Linked DNA regions of Homo sapiens: region 1 is linked to region 2. The links are contacts of gene promoters, found by promoter capture Hi-C in blood cells and fetal thymus (Javierre and others, 2016). All regions are on one chromosome and are shown on one strand. Each heading gives the region's core, a stretch centred on a gene start or on the middle of the fragment in contact. The rest is flanking DNA. Distances are from core to core; before and after follow the strand shown.

Region 1 (6,899 bases), core at 1,397-3,896, 1.1 Mb after region 2:
ATGTAATCTCTGGTAAGAGACCCTTGGCAGGAGTGAAAGCCCTTTATCTTCAGGGCTTTGCTCTGGGCAGGATCTCCCCCTCCCCACCATGAGCCATGCAGGTGGGCCTGTCCTCAGGTAAACACTTGCCAACAGTCACAGCCTCTCAGGCACTGCGCGCCCCTCATGGCTTCCTTTCTTTCACTGTCTTCTCAGATTCACCAGCTACAAGTCGGTTTCTTGTTGCATATCATGCTTCTGACCTTTGCTGCGCTTTTGAGCAAAACGGTGACTTGTCAGAAATGTTTTGACAAATGATTAATGTTTTGACCCATGTTGGTTCCCGCTTGATAGAGCTCGGTGGGTAGGAGCTGGGGTGGTAGAGCCAGACAGCCTGGGCAGGCTCCTCTGGGGACTCTGTGAAGCACATGGTGATAACAGTGCTCGCCTTGGGCACTGTTGTTGCTGCAGGAATTAAATGAGCTTCACCAAATTACAGGACCTTTACTGCCTGTAAATTACTTAGCACATAGTAAAAGCTCATTAATTATTAGCTAAAATAAAGTGATAAAAATCTATCATTAAATTGTCAGCACAGCCCTGCAGAGGCAACCTTTTAAGTATTGTTATCCTTCGCAGATGAAGACACAAGGTTCACAGAAACTGACTAATTGGCCTAAGATAACTTACAGTACAAAAGCCAGGATTTCAATCTAGCTTTTTGAGACTAGAGCCTGAGTGAACTGTTTCTCCAAAGCCAAGGCTTCTCAAACTATTGGTGGTGAAGAACCAAATTTTTTTTCCCAATTCCTCTCACATCAGTAGTTACGTAAAATACAATAAAAATGGGGCCAGGTGCGGTGGCTCACGCCTGTAATCCCAGCACTTTGGGAGGCCGAGGCGGGTGGATCATGAGGTCAGGAGATCGAGACCATCCTGGCTAACACGGTGAAACCCCATCTCTACTAAAAACACAAAAACAAAATTAGCCAGGCATGGTGGCGGGCACCTGTAGTCCCAGCTACTGGGGAGGCTGAGGCGGGAGAATGGAGTGAACCCTGGAGGCAGAGCTTGCAGTGAGCCGAGATCTCACCACTGCACTCCAGCCTGGGCGACAGAGGGAGACTCTGTCTCCAAAAAAATAAATAAATAAATAAAAAATAAAAAATAAAATAAACAAATAAATAAAAAAGCATGGATTCCAGAATCATGAAATGAGAAAAAGGACATTTGAAATACAAGCCCCATTTTAAAAAGTATTGATCTAACAGGCATAAAATTACTCTTTAAAATTACTGTAAAAGTCACTTACACTCCATTTCTGTACTTTTCTCATCTTGCATCTTGAAAAGCTTTCTCAGCCTAGCACTTCTCTGCAGATCTCACTTTCAGTAGCACTGTTCTCAGCGACCTGTTTCTCACCACTTGCCTGAGAATTAATTACCTGGGGTGCTTATTAAATGCAGATTTCCAACTTCCCCCCAATATTCTCCCAACCTCCCAGACTACTTGAATCAGAATGATTGAGACAGAATTCAGGAACCCGCATTTTAACAAGTGATTTTAATAATTTGGGTGTGCTCTAAGTCTGAGAATCACTGTGCTCCTCAGTGTTGCCTCCTCTCTACAGATAACAGATAAGAGGGTAAATAGTGAAGTGAGTGCAGTGTTTTATTCCGGCCCCCCTTCTTGCCCCGTCTTCTTTTCTCAAAAAAAATTTTCAAAGGCTTCCTTTCTGTAGAAGCTCACTGACAGAACCGACTTTCCGGACTCAGTGCACTTCAACAAACAGGTATTGAGCTCAAACTGCAGGGGGCTGGGTAGGTGGAGAGCTGACCGCAAGATGCTCACAAGCAGTAGAGGGTGAGTATAGGTAGAGAAAGGGCAGGTCTAGGGCATTTCTGTGCATAAAGTGGGGCAGAAGAGAAGGAGCCAGCAACGAGACCAGTAAGGCATTACCGGTAAGGCAGAGAAAAGCCAGGAGAAGTATAGGTTTTGGAAGCTAGGTGAAGAATATGCATCAAGGAAGAGGAAGTTATGGACTGCTGATGAGCTGAATAAGATGAAGACTGAACATTGACCATTTGGTTAGCAATGTGGAGATCGTGGAGGTCCTTGTGACTCTGACAAGATCAGGTTCATGGAGATGGGGAGGCCTGGTTGGAGTGGGTTCAAGTGAGAGTGGGAAGATAGCTATTGCAAACAAGACTATGGACTGTCTTTCAAGGAGTTTTACTGTAAAGGAAAGAGAAATAAGGCATTTTAAAGAAGAGAAATGAGGTCAAGAGGTTTAGGGTCAGGGCAGGGAAGTGGAGTTTATTTAGAACTCATGCAATAAGTGGCTCAATATATGACTTCTCTAAAGTCATATATCTTTTAGTTAATTCCTTGAGTAAAACAGAAACAATTGTCTATCGTGACTTTTTTCTTCAAGCTCTTTAAAACTCTCCCCACTCCCAAACTATATCACTGTCTAAGAAGAAAGGAGTTTGAAAATCAGTCTTGTTACATAGCTTAATTTGAATACATCCAAAAAATGACATTGCATTATTTTCATATTTGCTGAATCTATTTTTTGGCTGGAGTATTTTAAAGTAGATTTTTAAAGTAGATTTCATCTCTTACTACTTCACATGCATAGGACTTTTTCTTTATATAACCACAATACTTTTATACACCTAACAAAATTAACAATAATTTCTTAATACCATATAATAACCAATCTATGTTCCAATATCCCCATTTGTCCCCAAGGTGAATCAAACCAAGATTCAGACAAGGTGTACGTATTACATATTATTATATCTGCGAAGCCATTTGTTTTTTATTCCCATTTACTTGTTGATGAAACCAGTTCAGTTGTCCCATAGGAAGTCCTACCTTCTGGATTTGTCTGATAATTTTCCTTTGGCGCTATTTGACTTGTTCTTCTTTCTTCTGTATTTCCTAAAAACTGGAATTGTGTATGACAGCTTGATAATATACAGATTAAACATTTTGGGCAAGAATTTTTCATAGGTGGTTAGCAGGGCGTGGTGGTGCACGCCTGTGATCCCAGCTACTCGGGAGGCTGAGGCAGGAGAATCGCTTGAACCTGGGAGGTGGAGGTTGCGGTGAACAGAGATTGTGCCACTGTGTACTCCAGCCTGGGTGACAAAGCAAGACCTTGTCTCTAAAAAAAAAAAGAATTTTTCATAGGTGCTTCATGTCACGTCACATCAGAAGGCACACACTATCTAGATGTCTCACTGTTAATGATGCTAAAAGACTGATCAGGGTCAGGTCACGGCTGCTTGACTCACGAGAGGTGTTTTGATTTTGCTTTTTAAGAGCAGCAGCGTGTCTATATGTTGATGGGAGTAATCTTTGAGAGAGGGATACTTATCAATTAAACAAAGGGGTGAGGTTTTCTAGAACAACTTTCTTAAGTAAACAATAATGTGTAGGATCTAGTGGACAAGTGTTGGTTATTGCAAGTGTTGGACATAGCCAGTTCATCTATAGTAATGAGGCATATGGACATAAATGCAGATAAAGGGGGCTCTGTTAGGGGGTTTGAGGAAGTTCTAATCTGGCAGCTTTTGTTTTCTCCATGAACAAGTAGCAAATTCATCACAGGAGAGGGAGATTGAAAGGAGGAAGTCAAGTAGTGGGCGAGTGCCAGATGAATAGACTGGACAAGTAGCATGTGATTTCTGAAAAGCATTAAGGACCTCCTGGCAGTTAGGGATCGCGAACTTGAAGTGAAATCAGTAAGCATTGTTGTACAATTTTCTCTAGCCATGCTCAGTTGCATGTTTGCTGGTGTGGAGCAGAACAGAGGGTTGGATTTAACCAGGATTGAGTTTTAGCCAATCATGTGTGATCAAAGAGGGCAAAGGACTCATTTTAATGATTTTGACCATGGAATTTAAGCTGTGTAGGAAGGGAAGTAAGAATATGAGGAAAGTGAGGAACAGTGACAGGTGGAAGGATTAACCACAGAAGCTTGTTGGAGTTGGGGTACTAGTTGGAATAGGCTGCATATAGACAGGAGTGGTAATTGGAGATGGGATGCCTGAACTCAAGATTATGGAAGGTATTGTTGGGAAATAACAAGATCAGAGATACAACTCTGGGAGTGAGTGGCCGTGGTCACAATCACTGGGGTAGAGGAGATCAAAGGACTGTGAGGCCAGAGGACTAGAATATCCTAAAAGTGGATATTAATATCACAAGGAGTTATGATAGAAACAGTGTTGGAGCTAAAATATTCAGGCAACGAAGCACGGTATTTTGGGTGGGGGAGAAGATGGCTGCAGCCAGGTAAGTGGGGTCATAGGTAGCGCTGTCTGCACAGGGTCTCTGTGAGGATGACATGCATTGATGCATGTGATGCTCTTCACTTTGAGCCTGACAAATAGCATGTGTTAGAGGTTCAGTCTAACACTTGCTAGAGGCAACAAGTGTTAGAGGTTCACCATCTGAGTCTATGTGGCTCCAGTGAGTAGAGCTTAAAACACTGGGTTTATAGTTATTCATTTTTTATTTTATTTTTTAGACAGAGTCTTGCTCTGTTGTCCAGGCTGGAGTGCAGTGGTGCAATCTCAGCTCACTTCAACCTCCGCCTCCCGGATTCAAGCGATCCTCCTGCCTCAGCCTCTCAAGTAGCTGGGATTACAGGCGCCCGCCACCACACCCAGCTAATTTTTGTATTTTTAGGAAAGATGAGGTTTCACCGTGTTGGCTAGGCTGGTCTCGAACTCCTAACCTCAAGTGATCTGCCCGCCTTGGCCTCCCAAAGTGCTGGGATTACAGGTGTGAGCCACCGTGCCCAGCTGCAACACTGGATTTATTTTTACAGGGAAGTTGATTTTCATTAACTTTAATATATTTCTAAGAGGCAGAGCTACTCACACAGTTGTGTGTGGTCTGGGGCGGTAGTAAATTCCCTGTCATTCAGTGTATCCAACAGGCAAAATGAACATTTGCAATGATGGTGCCGTCAAGGTGATTCTGGCAACTGAAGGTGATGGGTGGGTAGGTGGGAGGGAGTGGCTGTAGCAATTGAAGGCAGTGGGCAGTGGGGAGGGATGGTGTCAGGAGCTAGCTTCATTCTTGCATTCAGACATGACTGAACATTTCCTAGTTGTGGCCCAGGAGCTCTCAATCTGGTTGGGACAGATCTGCAAACAGATAAATGTCACATAGTTTGATGAGGGGAAGAATAGGCACCATGGAGTTATGCTGATCATCTCTGTGAGGCCAAGGAAGCTTGAGAGTCAAGGAGCACTTGAGCTGGTGTTGGAAGCTGAGTGGGCATGGCCCCATGGGAACAGCACAGGAAACCACACTTTGCTGAAGAACTTCTTGTGCAGAGCTGCAAAGGCATGAAAGAGTCTTCGACATTTAGAGTGCCATTCTACTTAATCTGGGCAAATTATTTATCTTCCCTGTCTCAGTTTCCCTGTTTGTAAAAATGGGGGTAGTAATGGTATCCACAGAGGAAGGGATGGTGACTGTTGTAATCCCTTTGAGTGGATTATCTTTTTTTTTTTTTGAGATGGAGTCTCGCTCTGTTGCCCAGGCTGCAGTGCAGTGGTGTGATCTCGGCTCACTGCAACCTCCACCTCCCGGGTTCAAGTGATTCTCCTACATCAGCCTCCCGAGTAACTAAGATTACAGACACACGTCACCACGCCCCGCTAGTTTTGTATTTTTAGTAGAGACGGGTTTTCACCATGTTGGTCAGGCTGGTCACGGGCTTCTGACTTCAAGTCATCCACCTGCCTCAGCCTCCCAAGGTGCTGGGATTACAGGCATGAGCCACAGTACCTGGCCGAGTGGATTATTTTACTTGATTCTGTAAATCACACTATGAGGTAGGACTTGTTATTATTACTATTTCTATTTTATAGATAAAGATGTCTTAAATCTTGGGTCTTAAGGGGTTGAGTAACTTGCTCAAAGTCAGGTAGCTGGTGAAAGGCAGTTTGGGCTCTTGTCTTGATAAATCTGATTCCAAAGCTTGTATTGTTCATCCCTAAGCTATAGTCAGTGCTTGGCACATAGCTAGTGCTAAATAAATGGTAGCTATTATTGCCAGGATTGCTAAAGTTTCTCACCCAGAGAGTTGAGGGTTCTGTTATCACTTCTACAGCTGGTTGAAGATCAGTAGTGCTGCTATCTCATCAGCAGCAGGGACTATTTTTGGAAAGCCCTCATCACCTATGATAAATCTAGATAGTTGCACCACTTTTGTTTCAATTGGTTGATTTTTGAAAATCAAAAATGGAGAGTGATTTTTATCTTCTTAGAGGGCAAGGTTTTTTGAGCAGATGCAGTTGATGTAAGGGAGGAAGAGCTGGGATTGATGTACTTTTCTGTTGTCTGTGGGCTGTATCAAACAAAAAGTTTCATGTTCTGGCTGCCAGCTGGAGGATGGCAGCAAACCAGCATTCACAGGCAAGAGGTATCATCCAAAAGTCTGGTGACTGCCCACAGTGTTTTCTACAGGGGGCTAAGAAAGAGCCTCTTCCATGAGTGATGCCAGGAGTAAGAGCTGTGAACCCGTCACCCATTTATTCATTCAACAAATGCATACTGAGAGCTTATTAAGTGCTAGACATTCATCTAGTGTCTAGAGATACTCCCTGGAAATAATAGAGAAGAAGGTTGACAAGATTCCTATTTATGAAGCTTATATTTTTAGTGGAAGGAGACAGACTAATCAAATACTAAATGAATGCCTGCATAATTACAAACACTCATGCCACAAGGGAAATTCATGCTGTGAAAATGTCAGAGGGATAACTATCAGAGAAATTTTCTGACTCTTCCAAGGATGCTGCCCAGAAAACCGTCCTTCTTTGAGCTGATGAGGAGAGCCCCAAATGTTTTGACACAGGGCAGAGTGGCACCTCTCACTTTTTCCCTGGTAG
Region 2 (6,134 bases), core at 52-2,551:
GCCTCAAAAATCAATTTCTATGGTGCTTTTCTATCACCCTTCTAACAGATTCCTCTTAATTCTAGCAAGCCTCGTATGTTCGCATCATTCAATGCTTTCCGAATCCAATACCCAGAGCCCCACAGACCAGCTACGTATGCTGTTTAAACCCTAGAACTGTCTTGTTCCCGCAATTCAATCAACCCTCACTGAACACCTTTAAGAGGTGGAAACTTAAGGGAAAGAAAACTGTAGCCAACACACGCTGTGGTTCTAAGTATTAGAACGCCTCAAAACAAAGGAAATAACGGCGCCGTAAATGGTTGCCCGCCAATTTCTCCTTCACAATCCCGTGGAAATGCGATGTCCACAAAATCATCTTAACGACTTTGTGGTCTGTCCTAATAGAATACTGATACAGATTTTTGCCTGGGAAGCCCTTTCGGCATCAGAGAAAAGCGCTTCATTTAGGCCAAACACAAAGCCCTCACGCAATCCCCTCCACCTAACGGGCCCAGAACTTAGTCGGCCTTGGATTAGTTTCCATCTTAAGAGGCCCCAAAGACATCCCAGACTCCGTCCTTTCCGTGGAGGCAAAGACGGTCCTTCGTTAACCTAAACACCGGCCCAAAGACCCAAAAGAACGTCGTCTGTCCCCTTGCACCCCACCACGCGGCCTTACGAAGCGCGGCCCGCTGCGGGTCGGGTCCGCGTTGCCGCGCGGCTTCTCCGCCATTTTGTGCCTCTGGCAGCTCGCCCAGCCCGCCAGCCCAAGATGGCTGCGGCGGACCTTCGCAGGAGAGCAACGCCGAAATAAGATATCGCTCCCCTCCCCCAACACCGCGGGGACGCAGCGGCCATTTTCATCTTCCCCCTCTTATAACGGGAAAAACGGCCGTCTCGGGCAGAAGCCACATAAACCCGCCGGGGGCCTCCCTCCTTCACGACCAAAGGCACTAAGGCACTATCCACAAAGGCTTTTTTTGGTTAAATGCTGTCTCCCTTGCCTGCCCTCCCGGCTTCAGACTTCGGAGCCTAAAACGCCCCTGCCTCCTGGCCCGAGGCCGACGGGCCTAGAAAAAGATGCAAGGAGCTAGGACCACACAGCCACCCCCTACCGCAGCTCTACGTACCCGCTCGCCGTAGTTCTGCTCGCCGCTGTCGCTCATGACTCCTGGCTGCTGTCGCCGGTCGATGTGCTTCAATCGAAGCTGCCAACCTCTTGCACCTTCCTTAAGGAGGCTCCGCCGCAGCCCCGCACGACGCGCCGGTCGCCCAGCCGCTCAGAGCCGAAATGCTCCGCACCGCCTCCGCACGGGCTCTAACTCTACCGGATGTGACGCGGCGCTCCTTAGCCAGGCTCCTCCCCTCCCAGAAACGCGCGCTTTCTTGGCCTCGCCCCTCCTCGCTCTGCCTTTCCTCTCCAGCTGCAGCGCGTCCCGCACAGGAAGTGACGTGACCCCGCCCCTCGCAGGGCCCCACCCCCATTCACGAGCCTCTATGAGGCGGGAAAGCTAGCGTGTCGTTTGGCTGCTGTAGTGGGCGCCACGGAGCCACAGTGATGTCACCAGCCACTTCTGAATCCCTTCTAGAACTTTCCAGGGAACCTGCCGAGTGTGCAGGGAGGAAGGAGATGCTGTTTCCCCCAATCTCAATTCCTTTCTCCGCCTTATTAGTTTCTTGTTTTGTGTCTTTCCTTTGTTAGAGAAGTGAATGTTCGTACATTGGGTTCTTACTTAATTTTGTCTTACTTGTAGATATTTCCTTCCTGAATACGTCTTCATTTAAAAAAGGTCAGATCGGGCTGGGCGCGCTGGCTCACGCTGTAATCCTAGCACTTTGGGAGGCCGAGACGGGTGGATCACGAGGTCAGGAGATCGAAACCATTCTGGCTAACCCAGTGAAACTCCGTCTCTACTAAAAATACAAAAAAATTAGCCAGGCGCGGTGGCGGGCGCCTGTAGTCCCAGCTACTTGGGAGGCTGAGGCAGGAGAATGGCGTGAACCCAGGAGGCGGAGCTTGCAGTGAGCCGAGATCGCGCCACTGCACTCCAGCCTGGGCAATAGAGCGAGATTCCGTCTCAAAAAAAAAAAAAAAAAAAAAAAAAGGTCAGATCGGCTGGGTGCGGTGGCTCACGCCTGTAATCCCAGCACTTTGAGAGGCCGAGGCAGGCGGATCACATGGTCAGGAGTTCGAGACCAGCCTGGCCAACATGGTGAAACCCAGTCTTTACTAAAAATACAAAAAAATTAGCCGGGAGTGGTGATGCATGCCTGTAATCCCAGCCACTCGGGAGGCTGAGGCAGGAGAATCGCTTGAACCCGGGAGGCGGAGGTTGCAGTGAGCCGAGATCGGACCGCTGCACTCCAGCCTGGGCGACAGAGCGAGACTCTGTCTAAAAAATAAATAAATAAAAATAAAAAAGGTCGGACCTTAATACACAGGAATCAGACACAATCTCTATTCTAAAGTTACAAAGTAATGTGCTAGAACCGTTAAACACAATTAGAAAAAATGATTGTAAGTGCCAGAGGCATGTATAACTACAGGGGTGTCACAAGGAGGGAAGATTAATTCTGCCATTTCGTAAGAGAATATAGTTGGATTATAGTGAGAAGAGCCCAAGACCAAGTCGGATACTTTCTTTCTTCTTTTTTTTGAGACGGAGTCTTGCTTTGTCGCTCAGACTGGAGTGCAACGGCGCGATCTCGGCTCACTGCAACGTCTGCCTCCCGGGTTCAAGTGATTCTCCGCCTCAGCCTCCGTAGCAGCTGGAATTACAGGCGCCTGCCAACACGCCAGGCTAATTTTTTGTATTTTTTATAGAGACGGAGTTTTGGCATATTGGCCAGGCTGGTCTCCTGGGCTCAAGCGATCCTCCCACCTCGGCCTCCCAAAGTGTTGGGATTACAGGCGTGAGCCACTTCCCCCAACCCCCAAGTCGGATACTTAATTCCTCTACACTTCAGTCTCCCCATCCATTGAAAAGGTGGTACCTGGCTGATGAGGCACTTTGATACTGGTAAAGGGTCATTTGATTTTTTTTTTTTTTTTTTGAGACAGGGTCTCTCTGGCTCTGTCGTGCAGGCTGGAGTGCGGTGGCTCATTGCACCTCCCAGTCTCAAGTGTTCCTCCTGCCTCAGCCCCATATCCCCAACTCCTGATTTTTTTTAACAGCTTTATTGAGATACGACTCACCTACTATGCAGTTCCCTTATTTAAAGTGTACAGTTCAAATGGCTTTTATTCACAGAATTGTGCAACCATCACCACAATTTTAGAGTAGTCTCATCACATTAAGAAAAGAAACACTCATTAATAGTCATTTTGCATCCCTCCTCCTCTCCACTCCTCACAACCCTCCCAGTCCTAGGCAATCACAAATCTTTCTTTCTCAATAGATTAACCTATTCAGGACATTTTATATGAATGGAATCATATGGTATGTATCTTTTGTAACTGGCTTCCTTGGCGTACGTTTTCACGGTTCATCCATGTTGTAGCATGTACTACTATTTCATTCTTTTTCATTGTCAAGTTATATTCAGTTGTATGGATATATGACATTTTATTTATCCATTCATCATTTAATAGACATTTGGATAGTTTCCATTTTTTAACTTATGAATAATCCTGCTGTGAACATTCATGTACAAATTTTTGTACGAGCACATGTTTTTATCTCTCTTAGGTATACACCTAGGAATGGAATTGCTGGATTGTATAGTAACCCTACGGTTAATTTGGGGGGAAACTGCCAAACAGTTTTCCACAGTGGCTGCATTCATTTTACATTTCACACTGCCACCAGCAGTGTATGTGGCTTCCAATTTCTCCACATCCTCACCAATACTTGTTATATTGTATTAAAAAAAATTGACCAGGCGTGGTGGCTTATGCCTGTAATCCCAGCACTTTGGGAGGCTGAGGTGGGCGGATCACCTGAGGTCAGGAGTTTGAGACCAGCCTCAACATGGCGAAACCCCGTCTCTACTAAAAATACAAAGTTAGCCGGGCGTGGTGGTACATGCCTGTAATCCCAGTTACTCGGGAGGCTGAGGCAGGAGAATTGCTTGAACCTGGTAGGCGGAGGTTGCGGTGAGCCAAGATCGTGCCATTGTACTCCAGCCTGGGCAACAAGAGCAAAAATCTGTCTCAAAAAAAATTATAACCACTCTAGTGGGTTTAAAGTGGTATCTCGATGTGGTTTTGGTTTGCATTTCCCTAGCGATAATGATAATGCTTTCATGCGTTTATTGGTGATTTGTAGATCTTTGGAGAAACGAATATTCTGATACTTTGCCCATTTTTAATTGGGTTATTTATCTTTTTATTATTGAGTTATAAGAGCTTGCAATTTGGCTCTTGTTTGGTAAAATAGTCATCCAGAACAGAATCAATATTTGAGGTACCTGAGATCCAGAGATTTGGTGATGACTCAAGTGTCAAGTGACTAAATAACTTCTGAATGAGCTGTCCCCTTTTTCTGAGAACACCTGTACTCCCAACACACACCTAAACCTGGACTCCTACTCAGATCTCTGGCCTTATCTTACTTTTTGGCTTAGATTAGATCTCTTGTTTATACATTCTTATGGCACCCCTTGACATTCATATTACTCACAACTATAATTAAAGAATAATAATTATATAATTATTTTATTTTCATTATTATTTCTTTGTGGGTTTTTTTTTTTTTTTTTGAGACAGAGTCTCGCTCTGGCGCCCAGGCTGGAGTGCAGTGGCGCGATCTTGGCTCACTGCAAACTCCGCCTCCTGGGTTCAAGCAATTCTCCTGCCTCAGCCTCTGGAGTAGCTGGGGCTACAGGCGCCCGCCACCACGCCCGGCTAATTTTTGTATTTTTAGTAGAGACGGGGTTTCACTGTGTTAGCCAGGATGGTCTCGATCTCCTGACCTTGGGATCTGCCCGCCTTGGCCTCCCAAAGTTCTGGGATTACAGGCATTAGCCACTGCGCTCAGCCCTATTTGCATTATTATTTCTGTGAATATAGTTTTTATGTCTGTCTTCCACACTAGATAATAAGTTCCTTAAGGGCAGGGCCAGTGCCTCTTTTGACCACTGCCTTATACGTAGTGCTTGGCACACAGTAAGCCTTTAGTAGTACTTGTTGAGTGATTAAAAGAAAGCAACGTATGAATTTAGAATTGATTGGGTAGGCATCAGGGTGCCTTTAGAGGTCCCTGAGCAGGAGACTAACTTGCTAAAAGTAGGCAAGATTGTCCTGGCAAAGATAGGAAGGTCAGGCTGCAGGTCTTGTGTCATTCATGTCTGTGTCTCCAGCATCTAGCGCAGGGCCATGCTGTTGAATGAGTGGCCATGTGGGATATGGATCCAGTACTGTAAATATGAGGCAGTGAGGATTAGATTCCCAAGGCAGCAAGAATGAGGACTAAGCAGGGAGTAGGGAGACTATGAAAGGGTGGGCTTGACTGGCCAATGTGATAGGAATATGGGGAAAGGGATAGTCAGAAATGACTGTAAAAACCTTGAGCCCTAGGCTGAGTGAGGTGGCTCACATCTATAATCCCAGCACTTTGGGAGGCTGAGGCAGGTGGATCATCTGAGGTCAGGAATTCGAGACCAGCCTGGCCAACATGGTGAAACCCCGTCTCTACTAAAAATACAAAAATTAGCTGGGCGTGGTGGCAGGCACCTGTAATCCCAGCTACTCAGGAGGCTGAGGTAGGAAAATCGCTTGAACCTGGGCAGTGGAGGTTTCAGTGAGCCGAGATTGCACCACTGCACTCCGGCCTGGATGACAGAGTGAGACTCCATCTCAAAAAACAAAAACAACAACAACAAAAATGTCTAGTCCTGGTAGGGGAGATATATACAGAGAAAATAATGCACCCAACAGGGAATGCTGTCTAACAGGCTTACTCCTGTAGCTTAGAGCCAAGCCAGAGGCTGCACTCAAATTTGTTTGTTGTTGTCTCCTTCCAGAGTCATAGACTCTCTCCTCCAGCATTTCTTGTTTAATTTTCAACTTCTGCCCTGGGATTCACTAGTGCATTCTGTCTTTAGTGGGGTTTTTGTTTTTTTTGTTGTTGTTTTGTTTTGCCTTCTCTCATTTAGTCATTCAACATACTGGATAACAGGCAAGGAGCAGATCACAGATGACCATGTATGCC

What was found. The method cuts DNA at HindIII sites, captures the fragments that hold promoters and counts their contacts. A CHiCAGO score of 5 or more calls a contact.
Region 1: a fragment that was not itself captured here is called in contact with the fragment with the promoter of TRA2B in region 2 in 1 of 17 cell types (naive CD8 T cells); the score reaches 11.1 in naive CD8 T cells.

Annotation. Positions count from the first base shown.
Region 1 is chr3:187,025,936-187,032,834 of GRCh38, forward strand. The region is part of intron 2 of ST6GAL1 (ST6 beta-galactoside alpha-2,6-sialyltransferase 1); the gene reads left to right. Among named protein-coding and RNA genes, the nearest start is that of ST6GAL1, 99 kb to the left of the region's middle. RefSeq lists an enhancer at 1-255. The HindIII fragment of the contact is 2,635 bases long and covers 1,330-3,964 here.
Region 2 is chr3:185,936,713-185,942,846 of GRCh38, forward strand. TRA2B (transformer 2 beta homolog) reads right to left here and starts at 1,302. Exons shown (of 9, transcript NM_004593.3): 1 at 1,113-1,302. The coding sequence starts at 1,148. RefSeq lists enhancers at 524-733, 636-1,363, 774-1,233. The HindIII fragment of the contact is 7,639 bases long and covers 1-6,134 here.